2 separate regions of the Homo sapiens genome follow, and region 2 is linked to region 1. Evidence: promoter capture Hi-C in human tissues and cell types (Jung and others, 2019). All regions are on one chromosome and are shown on one strand. Each heading gives the region's core, a stretch centred on a gene start or on the middle of the fragment in contact. The rest is flanking DNA. Distances are from core to core; before and after follow the strand shown.

Region 1 (4,806 bases), core at 943-3,442:
TTGCCTCCCATGTTCAAGTGATTCTCCTGCCTCGCCTCCCGAGCAGCTGGGATTACAGGCATATGTCACCATGCCTAGCTAATTTTGTATTTTTACTAGAGATGGGGTTTCTCCATGTTAGTCAGGCTGGTCTCGAACTCCCAACCTCAGGTGATCCACCCGCCTCTGCCTCCCAAAGTGCTGGGATTACAGGTGTGAGCCACTGTGCCTGGCTTTTTTTTTTTTTTTTTTTTTTTTTTGAGTCGGAGTCTCGCTCCGTTGCCCAGGCTGGAGTGCAGTGGTGTGATCTCAGCTCACTGTAACCCCTGCGTCCTGGGTTCAAGAGATTTTCCTGCCTCAGCCTCCTGAGGAGCTAGGACTACAGACGTGCGCCACCATGTCTGGCTAATTTTTGTATTTTTAGTAGAGACGGGTTTTCACCATGTTGGCCAGGACGGTCTCGATCTCTTGACCTCGTGATCCACCCACCTGGCCTCCCAAAGTGCTGGGATTACAGGCGTGAGCCATTGCGCCCGGTCGTGCATCACTATTTTGATGCATCATCTTCAAACCACCCTGCCCCAGCATCACTGGACTGCCGGTGTGCCCAGCCTCCCCTGCACAGCTTCCCACTCTGCTCACAGAGAAGACGGTGGAGGGGGGAGCCCAGGCGTGGGTTTTCCGTGTGCTGAGGGTGTCCTCAGCCACCTTTTTCCCCAAGTCATTGACGTGAAGCTGATTTTCTCATTGGTGGCCATGGAAACTGCCCAGAAATGGGAGCAGGGCCTCTGAGACCCTGCCCCAGCTAGACTCTCTCTCCAGGCTTCAGTGTCTCCTCCTGGAGCTGGGTGTTGACTCTGTCCAAGACTCTGCTCAGTCACTTCCTGGCTGATCCCCGAGTGCTCAAGTGTGTGATGAGATTAGGGCTCCCCCAGGCAGGAAACGGCCACATTGGACCCCTCCCTCCCCCATCCCTAGTTCATTTTATTTTCCCCAATCCTCATGGCTCCCAACTAGGCCCTCCTGCTCCCAGACCCCCCCAAGCCCTGTCCCCCATCCCCTGTAGCCCAGCGCTGAGCACACTGGGGCCAGAACCACCCATACCAGACTCCCCCAGGGCACGACGGGTTGAGGCCTCTCTGAGGCAGGGAGGGACAACACTGAGGGGCCTTGTGCAGAAGAGGGAAGGGGTACCCCCCCGAGCTTCAGTTTCTTCATCTGCCCGATGAGCCCCCATCCAATGGTACCCAGGAGTGGGGATGTGCTGGGGCTAGAGGAGGGAGGCCCCCTGGAGGCTGGCTTGGGGACCCTTCAACCTGGCCACCTCACTCAGGGTCAGAGGTCAGAGCAGGCGAGCCACACACCCCGAAGTCCCCCCGGTCCTCGGCAGGTGCTGTCCCCAGCATCACTGTCTCCCCTACAGATGCCCGTGTGTCCCCTGGGCAAGAGTGAAGTGAGGCACTCATACAGGGGTGCCTTGTGAGTATGGGGTCAGCCGAGGATGCTGAGGGGCTCTCGAGGTTCAGCCAGAGTCCCTGACGCTGGGCTCGTGCTGCTCTGGGGGTCTGAAGGGACCCTCGCTATTACCCTCTGGGAGGCGCCCATCCTTGGTTTTTTTTTTTTTTTTTGCCGAGTCTCGCTCTGTTGCCCAGGCTGGAGTGCAGTGGCAAGATCTCGGCTCACTGCAACCTCCACCTCCTGGGTTCAAGCAATTCTCCCACCTCAGCCTCCTGAGTAGCTGGGACCACAGGCATCTGCCACCAAGCCCAGCTAATTTTTGTATTTTTATGAGAGATGGGGTTTCTCCATGTTGGTCAGGCCGGTCTCAAACTCCCAACCTCAGGTGATTTGCCTGCCTTGGCCTCCCAAAATGTTGGGATTACAGCCGTGAGCCACCGTGCCTGGCCTAGCAGGGCTCTTCTTATCCTGCTCACCAGAGATAGGAAGTCGGGGGGTGACTTCAGGAAAGGCCCAGAGCCCGTGATGGGCGTGGGGATTGGGGTGAGGACAGGGCTGTCGTGAGAACAGTGGCTGCAGATGTGAGCGGCTGGCAGGAAGTGGCCACTTGAACCGCAGATGCTTCCTGGGCTGGTCAGGGACCGGGGGTGCTGGCTGCAGCTGGGACCCCCCCCCCTGCATCTTGCTGGCCTGGCACCTGGGTCCCTGGGAGGCGCCACACTGGATATAGCCACGTGGGGCAGCCCGGTCTCCATAACCCACACTCCAGTCCTCCCACGGGCTGGCTGGCAAGCGGCCCTGGTGGGTCTGCGGGGGCAGGGGCAGCCTTCCTGGTTTATCTCTACCGGCGCGATCTGCTCGTCCGCCTCGGCTCCAGAAGCTGGGGCTCAGGGTCCGGCGAGGCAGGAAGCCTGAGGCCACAGCCCAGAGCAGCCTGAGTGCAGTCATGTGGGGGCGACTGCTCCTGTGGCCCCTGGTGCTGGGGTTCAGCCTGTCTGGCGGCACCCAGACCCCCAGCGTCTACGACGAGAGCGGGAGCACCGGAGGTGGTGATGGTGAGTGGTCCTGGCTTTGGGGTGCAGAGATGGGGTTACATCAGAGATGGAGCTGGGGGCCCGGAGCTGGGGAGGGGGAGGCCGGGAAGTTGCGGGCTTCAGCCCAGCCCACTCTGTATCCCGTCTCTGACCCCATAGGGCTGGGCTATTCCCTTGAGTGTCATGTCCAGCTGTTTCCCACCAGGGCAGACCCCAGGCTCTGAGCACCTCCCTCCCTGCTGCTTCTCGTCACCTGCCGAGGCAGGGGCTGACTGAGGTCCCCTCTCTCTCCCAGACAGCACGCCCTCAATCCTGCCTGCCCCCCGCGGCTACCCAGGCCAAGTCTGTGCCAATGACAGTGACACCCTGGAGCTCCCGGACAGCTCACGGGCACTGCTTCTGGGCTGGGTGCCCACCAGGCTGGTGCCCGCCCTCTATGGGCTGGTCCTGGTGGTGGGGCTGCCGGCCAATGGGCTGGCGCTGTGGGTGCTGGCCACGCAGGCACCTCGGCTGCCCTCCACCATGCTGCTGATGAACCTCGCGGCTGCTGACCTCCTGCTGGCCCTGGCGCTGCCCCCGCGGATCGCCTACCACCTGCGTGGCCAGCGCTGGCCCTTCGGGGAGGCCGCCTGCCGCCTGGCCACGGCCGCACTCTATGGTCACATGTATGGCTCAGTGCTGCTGCTGGCCGCCGTCAGCCTGGATCGCTACCTGGCCCTGGTGCACCCGCTGCGGGCCCGCGCCCTGCGTGGCCGGCGCCTGGCCCTTGGACTCTGCATGGCTGCTTGGCTCATGGCGGCCGCCCTGGCACTGCCCCTGACACTGCAGCGGCAGACCTTCCGGCTGGCGCGCTCCGATCGCGTGCTCTGCCATGACGCGCTGCCCCTGGACGCACAGGCCTCCCACTGGCAACCGGCCTTCACCTGCCTGGCGCTGTTGGGCTGTTTCCTGCCCCTGCTGGCCATGCTGCTGTGCTACGGGGCCACCCTGCACACGCTGGCGGCCAGCGGCCGGCGCTACGGCCACGCGCTGAGGCTGACCGCAGTGGTGCTGGCCTCCGCCGTGGCCTTCTTCGTGCCCAGCAACCTGCTGCTGCTGCTGCATTACTCGGACCCGAGCCCCAGCGCCTGGGGCAACCTCTATGGTGCCTACGTGCCCAGCCTGGCGCTGAGCACCCTCAACAGCTGCGTGGATCCCTTCATCTACTACTACGTGTCGGCCGAGTTCAGGGACAAGGTGCGGGCAGGGCTCTTCCAACGGTCGCCGGGGGACACCGTGGCCTCCAAGGCCTCTGCGGAAGGGGGCAGCCGGGGCATGGGCACCCACTCCTCTTTGCTCCAGTGACACAAAGTGGGGAAGGCTGTACTGGGTCGAACAGGGTCCCTTCCCCCACTTCACGTCCTTCCTGGGACCTCAGAATGTGACCTTATTTGGAAATAGGGTTGTTACAACTGTCACTAGCGGAGGTCACTTTGGAGAAGGGTGGGCCTTACATCCAGTGTGGGTGGTGTCCTCATAAGATAAGGAGAGGCCAGGCCTGGTGGCTCACGCCTGTAATCCCAGCACTTTAAGAGGCCAAGGCGGATGGATCACTTGAGCCCAGGAGTTCAACACCAGCCTGAGCAACATGGTAAAACCCCATCTCTACCAAAAATACAAAAATTAGCTGGGCTTGGTGGCTGGCGCCTGTAATCCCAGCTACTCAGGAGACTGAGGCAGAAGGATCGCTTGAACCTGGGAGGCAGAGGTTGCAGTGAGCCGAGATTGCGCCACTGGACTCCAGCCTGCGTGACAGAGAGCCTGTCTCTAAATTAATTAATTAATTAATTTAATTCAATTTTAAAAAGACGAAAAGTGACGGCCAGGTGCAGTGGCTCACGCCTATAATCTCAGCACTCTGGGAGGCCAAGATGGAGGATTGCTTGAAGCCAGGAGTTTGGGACCAGCCTGGGCAACATAGGGGGATCCCATCTCTACACACAAAAAAATTTTTTAATGAACCAGGCATTGTGGCATGCGCCTATAGTCCCAGCCACTCAAGAGGCACAGGCGGGAGGATCACTTGAGCCTGGGAGGTTGTGGTTGCAGTGAGCTATGATTGTACCACTGCACTCCAGCCTGGGCAACAGAGCAAGACCTTGTCTCAAAAATAAACAAACTAAAATTAAAAAAAGAAGACGAGAGATAGTGGGTGTGGTGGCTCACACCTGCAATCCCAGCACTTTGGAAGGCCGAGGTGGGCAGATCATCTGAGGCCAGGAGTTCAAGACCAGCCTGGCTAACATGGTGAAATCCTATCTCTACCAAAAATACAAAAATTAGCCAGGCGTGGTGG
Region 2 (4,806 bases), core at 1,276-3,775, 410 kb after region 1:
TGCTCAACTTGCCTGGCTGTTCAATCTTGCCTTTCTTCCTGGATAAAGGAGAGAATGAGGCCACTTGGTAGTGGTCAAGCCCTGGGGACCAAGCCTTCCATGGAGGGGTTCTTGGTAAGTTTTAGGTTGTATTACCTGCCCTTTAAGCAGGAGTGAATTACAGTAACCCATGCCTTTGTAAATGCCTAGAATTTACAGGATTCCGATGAGCGCTTCCTGAATGCACAGTGTTCTCCAGGGCAGTTGATTTTTTAACTTAGTCTAAGGCAGTGGTTCTCAGCTGGGGGTAATTCTGCCCACCAGGGCACGCTTGGCAACTACTGAAGACATTTTTGACTGTCATGATCAACACTAGATTGTGTAGTTGCATCCAGTGGGCAGAAGCCAGGGATGCTACTAAACATCCTATAGCCCCTCACAGAAAAAAAATAACCTGGCCAAACACGATAGTGCTGGGATTGAACAACACTGCTTTTTTTTTTTTTTTTTTTTTTTTGGGCAGAGTCTCACTCTGTTGCTCAGGCTGGAGTGCAGTGGTGTGATCTTGGCTCACTGCAACCTCTGCCTCCCAGGTTCAAGTGATTCTCCTGCCTCACACCCCCGAGTAGCTGGGATTACAGGCACACACCATCATGCCTGGTTAATTTTTTGTACTTTTAGTAGAGATGGGGTTTCACCATGTTGGCCAAACTGGTGTTGAACTCCTGACCTCAAGTGATCTGCCTGCTTTGGCTTCCTAAAGTGCTAGGATTACAGGCGTAAGCCACTGCACCTGGCCTGAGCAACACTGCTTTAGAACAATGTGAAACAATATCAGTGATGACGGAAATCCCTGTCTGATTACATATGCTAATGGGAGTTTTCAGCCTGGTATAGCGGCTCATGCCTGTTACCCCACCACATCGGGAGGCCAAGGAGGGAGGATGGCTTGAGCCCAGGAGTTCAAGACCAGCCTGGGCAACATAATGAGACCCCCCCCCCATTCTCTATATAATTTTTTTTTGAACTTGAAAATTGGCCTGGTGCGTTGGCTCACGCCTGTAATCCCAGCGCTTTGGGAGGCCGAGGAGGGCGAATCACGAGGTCAGGAGATCGAGACCATCCTGGCTAACACGGTGAAACCCCGTCTGTACTAAAAAGACAAAAAATTAGCCAGGCATGGTAGCGGGTGCCTGTAGTCCCAGCTACTAGGGAGGCTGAGGCAGGAGAATGGCATGAACCTGGGAGGTGGAGCTTGCAGTGAGCCAGGATCACGCCACTGCACTCCAGCCTGGGGGACAGAGTGAGACTCCATCTCAAAAAAAAAAAAAAAAAAAAAAATTAAGGCTGAGCACAATGACTCACACCTGTAGTCCTAGCACTTTGGGAGGCTGAGGTGCAAGGATCACTTGAGCCCAGTAGTTAAAGAACATCTTGGGCAACATAGTGAGATGCCATCTCTATTTAAAAGAAAAAAAAATTTTAAAAATGTAAAAATTAAATTGAAAAATGGGATTTTTTTCAAGGAGAAAAATTAGGATTTTTGTTTGCTTTGTTTTGTTTTAGGAGATAAGGTTTTGCCATGTTGTCCAAACTCATCTCCAATGATCCATCCACAAAGTGCTGGGATTACAAATGTGCACCACCGCGCGTGGTGGCCCCTTTTTTTTTTTTCATGACGGAGTCTCCTTCTGTCGCCCAGGCTGGAGTGCAGTGGCACAATATGATCTTGGCTCACTGCAAGCTCCGTCTCCCGTGCTCATGCCATTCTCCTGCCTCAGCCTCCCGAGTAGCTGGGACTATAGGTGCCCACCACCACACCCAGCTAATTTTTTGTATTTTTAGTAGAGACAGGGTTTCACCGTGTTAGCCAGGATGGTCTCAATCTTCTGACCTCGTGATCCGCCCGCCTCAGCCTCCCAAAGTGCTGGGATTACAGGCGTGAGCCACCGCGCCCGGATTTTTTTTTCTTTTTTAAAGAGCGACAGGTTCTTGCCATGCTGCCCAGGCTGGAGTGCAGTGGTGTGATCACAGTTCACTGCAGCCTCGACCTCCCAGACTCAAGCAATCTCCTGCCTCAGCCCTTAAGTAGGTGGAACTATATGCGTGCACCTCCTCACCTAGCTAATGTTTGTACTTTTTGTAGAGCTAGGGGGTTCTCCCTATGTTGCCCAGGCTGGTCTCAAACTCCTTGCCTCAAGATATCCTCCCGCCTTGGCCCCCGAAAGCACTGGGATTACAGGTGTCAGTGGCATCTCAGAGTCTCCCTCTGTCGCCCAGGCTGGAGTGCAGTGACACAATCTCGGCTCACTGCAACCTCCACCTCCTCGGTTCAAGTGATTCCTCTGCCTCAGCCTCCCGAGTAGCTGGGACTACAGGCGCGTGCCACCACGTCTGGCTAATTTTTGTATTTTTGGTAGAGACGGGGTTTCACCACCTTGGCCAGACTGTTCCCGAACTCCCAACCTCAGGTGATCCGCCTGCCTCGGCCTCCCAAAGTGCTGGGATTACAGGCGTGAGCCACGGGGCTCAGCCAAAAACTCAGTATTTTGTGACTGTAGTCCCTGCTGACCCCATCCCTCACCCCCACCCCACATGCCAGGGTTCACTTACCCGTAGGAATGGCCAATGAGCACATTTCGCTTCTTGGCATAGCGCTTGAAGATTGCTCGCATGTCCTCAGCCAGCGCATAGAAGGTGTAGGCTGCGGCCACCTGGGGCGCAGAGCTGGCCCCGTGGCCGGCCAGGTCAGGAGCCACCACCTCATAGCCTAGGCGCACAAAGAAGTCCAGCTGCTCCTTCCAGATGGCCAGGGAACCGCCGACACCATGGATGAAAAAGAGCACCACGTCGGCCTGGGCGCCTTTGCAGCTAGTGATGCGCTTCTCACAGTCAATATGGATGGTCCTCTTGGGGCGCCTGGCTCGCCGCCGCCGCCCACCACTGCCACTGCCGCTGCCGCTGCCTGCGCTGCCGGGGGCCAAGCGGCCATCGCTGCCCGCCGGATCTGCCAGCTCCACCTCCAGGGCGGCCGGCGGCTCCCCAGAGCCATTCTGCCCGTGTAGGAGGTCGGCTCGAGGGGCTCGGCCCAGGTTTTCCACCAGCAACCGCCCATTGCGGTACACGGTGATCCGGCGCTGACAGCGGACCAAGCCGGAGAGGTCCCCCTGGGCTGCATCCGAGGATGCGGATGATGGTGGAGGTGGGGCAGCGGCTGGGGCGGGTCCTGCATGCTTCACCCGCAGCACGCGGCCGGGCTTGACCTCTACAAAGGTGTAGCCATCGCTGGACTCGACGCTCTCCAGTGGCCCCACGGCGTTGGGGGGCGTGCCCAGCAGGCAACAGAAGATACCGTCGGTCACCCCGGTCAGCATGGTGTGTCCTGTGAGTGAGGACAGCAGCCAGTTCAGGTGCTGTCTCAATGAGAACCCTGCACCGTGCAGCAGGCACTCCCTGAGCCTTGGGAGAACTGTTTTAGACTCCAGTTTGGGGAGCGCCAGATCAAGTGAGCCACGGCACTGAGATTTTTTTGTTTGTGTGTGTGTGTGTGTGTGTGTGTGTGTGTGTTTTTGAGACAGTCTCGCTTTGTCATCCAGGCTGGAGGGCAGTGGCCGGATTTCGGCTTACTGCAACCTCCCCCTCCTGGGTTCAAGCGATTCTCTTGCCTCAGCCTCCTGAGTAGCTGGGATTATAGGCAGGTGCCACCATGTCTAGCTAATTTTTGTATTTTTTGTAGAGATGGGGTTTCACCATGTTGGCCAGGCTGGTCTTGAACTCCTGACCTCAAATTTTCCTCCTGCTTCGGCCTCCCAAAGTGCTGGGATTATAGGTGTGAGCCACCGTGCACTGACATGTTTTGTCTGAGCAGTGCCTTTGTGGTAGTTACCCTCCTGGGTCACCCTAGTCTATCCTCAGAGAGAAAGACTTGGCTATGGCTTACCCCACAGGGTGTCCACAGGGAAGGTGGTGGCGTCTTGTGTGGGGATGTTCCTGGAGAAGGGGACATTGTGGCAAATGTGGACCAGCCGGAAGACACCCCCTCCCCCCAGCTGGAGTTTATACCATTTATGGCCTCCTAACTCATTCATTCAGGTATACACTAACTCATCCATTCAGGTATACACTAACTCATTCATTCAGGTATACACTAACTCACTAACTCATCCAGGTATGCACTCACTAACTCACATATCCCCAGGGCCTCCTAAGGCATCTAAAATATGCAAATCTTTGGTGAGCCCCCAGTGAGGCTCCTGGCTCTGAATTTGACTCCTGAAAGGTGAGGCCCTAGGAGAGGGGGATGGGGACTGAGCCACAGAAAGCCTTGCTCAGCTCCCCTAGACCGGGGTGAGCCGGGGTCTGTTTCATAGAGGGCCAAGCTGAGGCCCAGACACTCTGAGAGGAAGCTAGACTCTGAACTTCCTCCTTGGCACCCTGGATTCTGGGGATCTGCTATACAAGTCCCCAGAGGTGGCGAAGAGGATGGGAGAGGCAGGGCCCTGGCTGGGGGCCTCCAAGCCTCCATCCCACTCCTTGGGCCACCCCCGCCCCCGTGTCCATGGCAACCACAGGCGGTTACATAACCTAAGGGGGGGATACCCGAGCAGTGCACCCCCATTGTCGAGGTGTCTAGGGCCTGGAGATGGGACCAGCTGCCTGCCTGCCCCCTACCCCAGGTTGGGCGCCGCTAAGGTAACGCACGCCCGAGACTGAGCCGCAGTGGCCCCAGACATACTGGAGGGGAAGCAGGCCATGCCCCCCACCTCGAGTGGGGCCCTAATCCCGGATTGTGGAGGGCAACGCACAGGCGCCACCCCAGCCCCGCTT

The links. Contacts are between HindIII fragments. The study calls those that stand out against the background at their distance.
Region 2: a contact is called between a fragment that was not itself captured here and the fragment with the promoter of F2RL3 in region 1, in 1 of the 25 tissues and cell types used here (spleen).

The regions. Positions count from the first base shown.
Region 1 is chr19:16,886,807-16,891,612 of GRCh38, forward strand. It overlaps F2RL3 (F2R like thrombin or trypsin receptor 3), which reads left to right and starts at 2,193. Exons shown (of 2, transcript NM_003950.4): 1 at 2,193-2,492; 2 at 2,767-4,806. The coding sequence starts at 2,384. The coding sequence ends at 3,815. RefSeq lists an enhancer at 2,868-3,467. The HindIII fragment of the contact is 19,143 bases long and covers 1-4,806 here.
Region 2 is chr19:17,298,264-17,303,069 of GRCh38, forward strand. It overlaps ABHD8 (abhydrolase domain containing 8), which reads right to left. Exons shown (of 5, transcript NM_024527.5): 2 at 2,593-3,361. The coding sequence starts at 3,353. It also overlaps a transcript of MRPL34 not described here. Among named protein-coding and RNA genes, the nearest start is that of ABHD8, 2.8 kb to the right of the region's middle. RefSeq lists enhancers at 2,698-3,198, 3,199-3,699 and silencers at 4,057-4,351, 4,735-4,806. The HindIII fragment of the contact is 7,858 bases long and covers 1-4,806 here.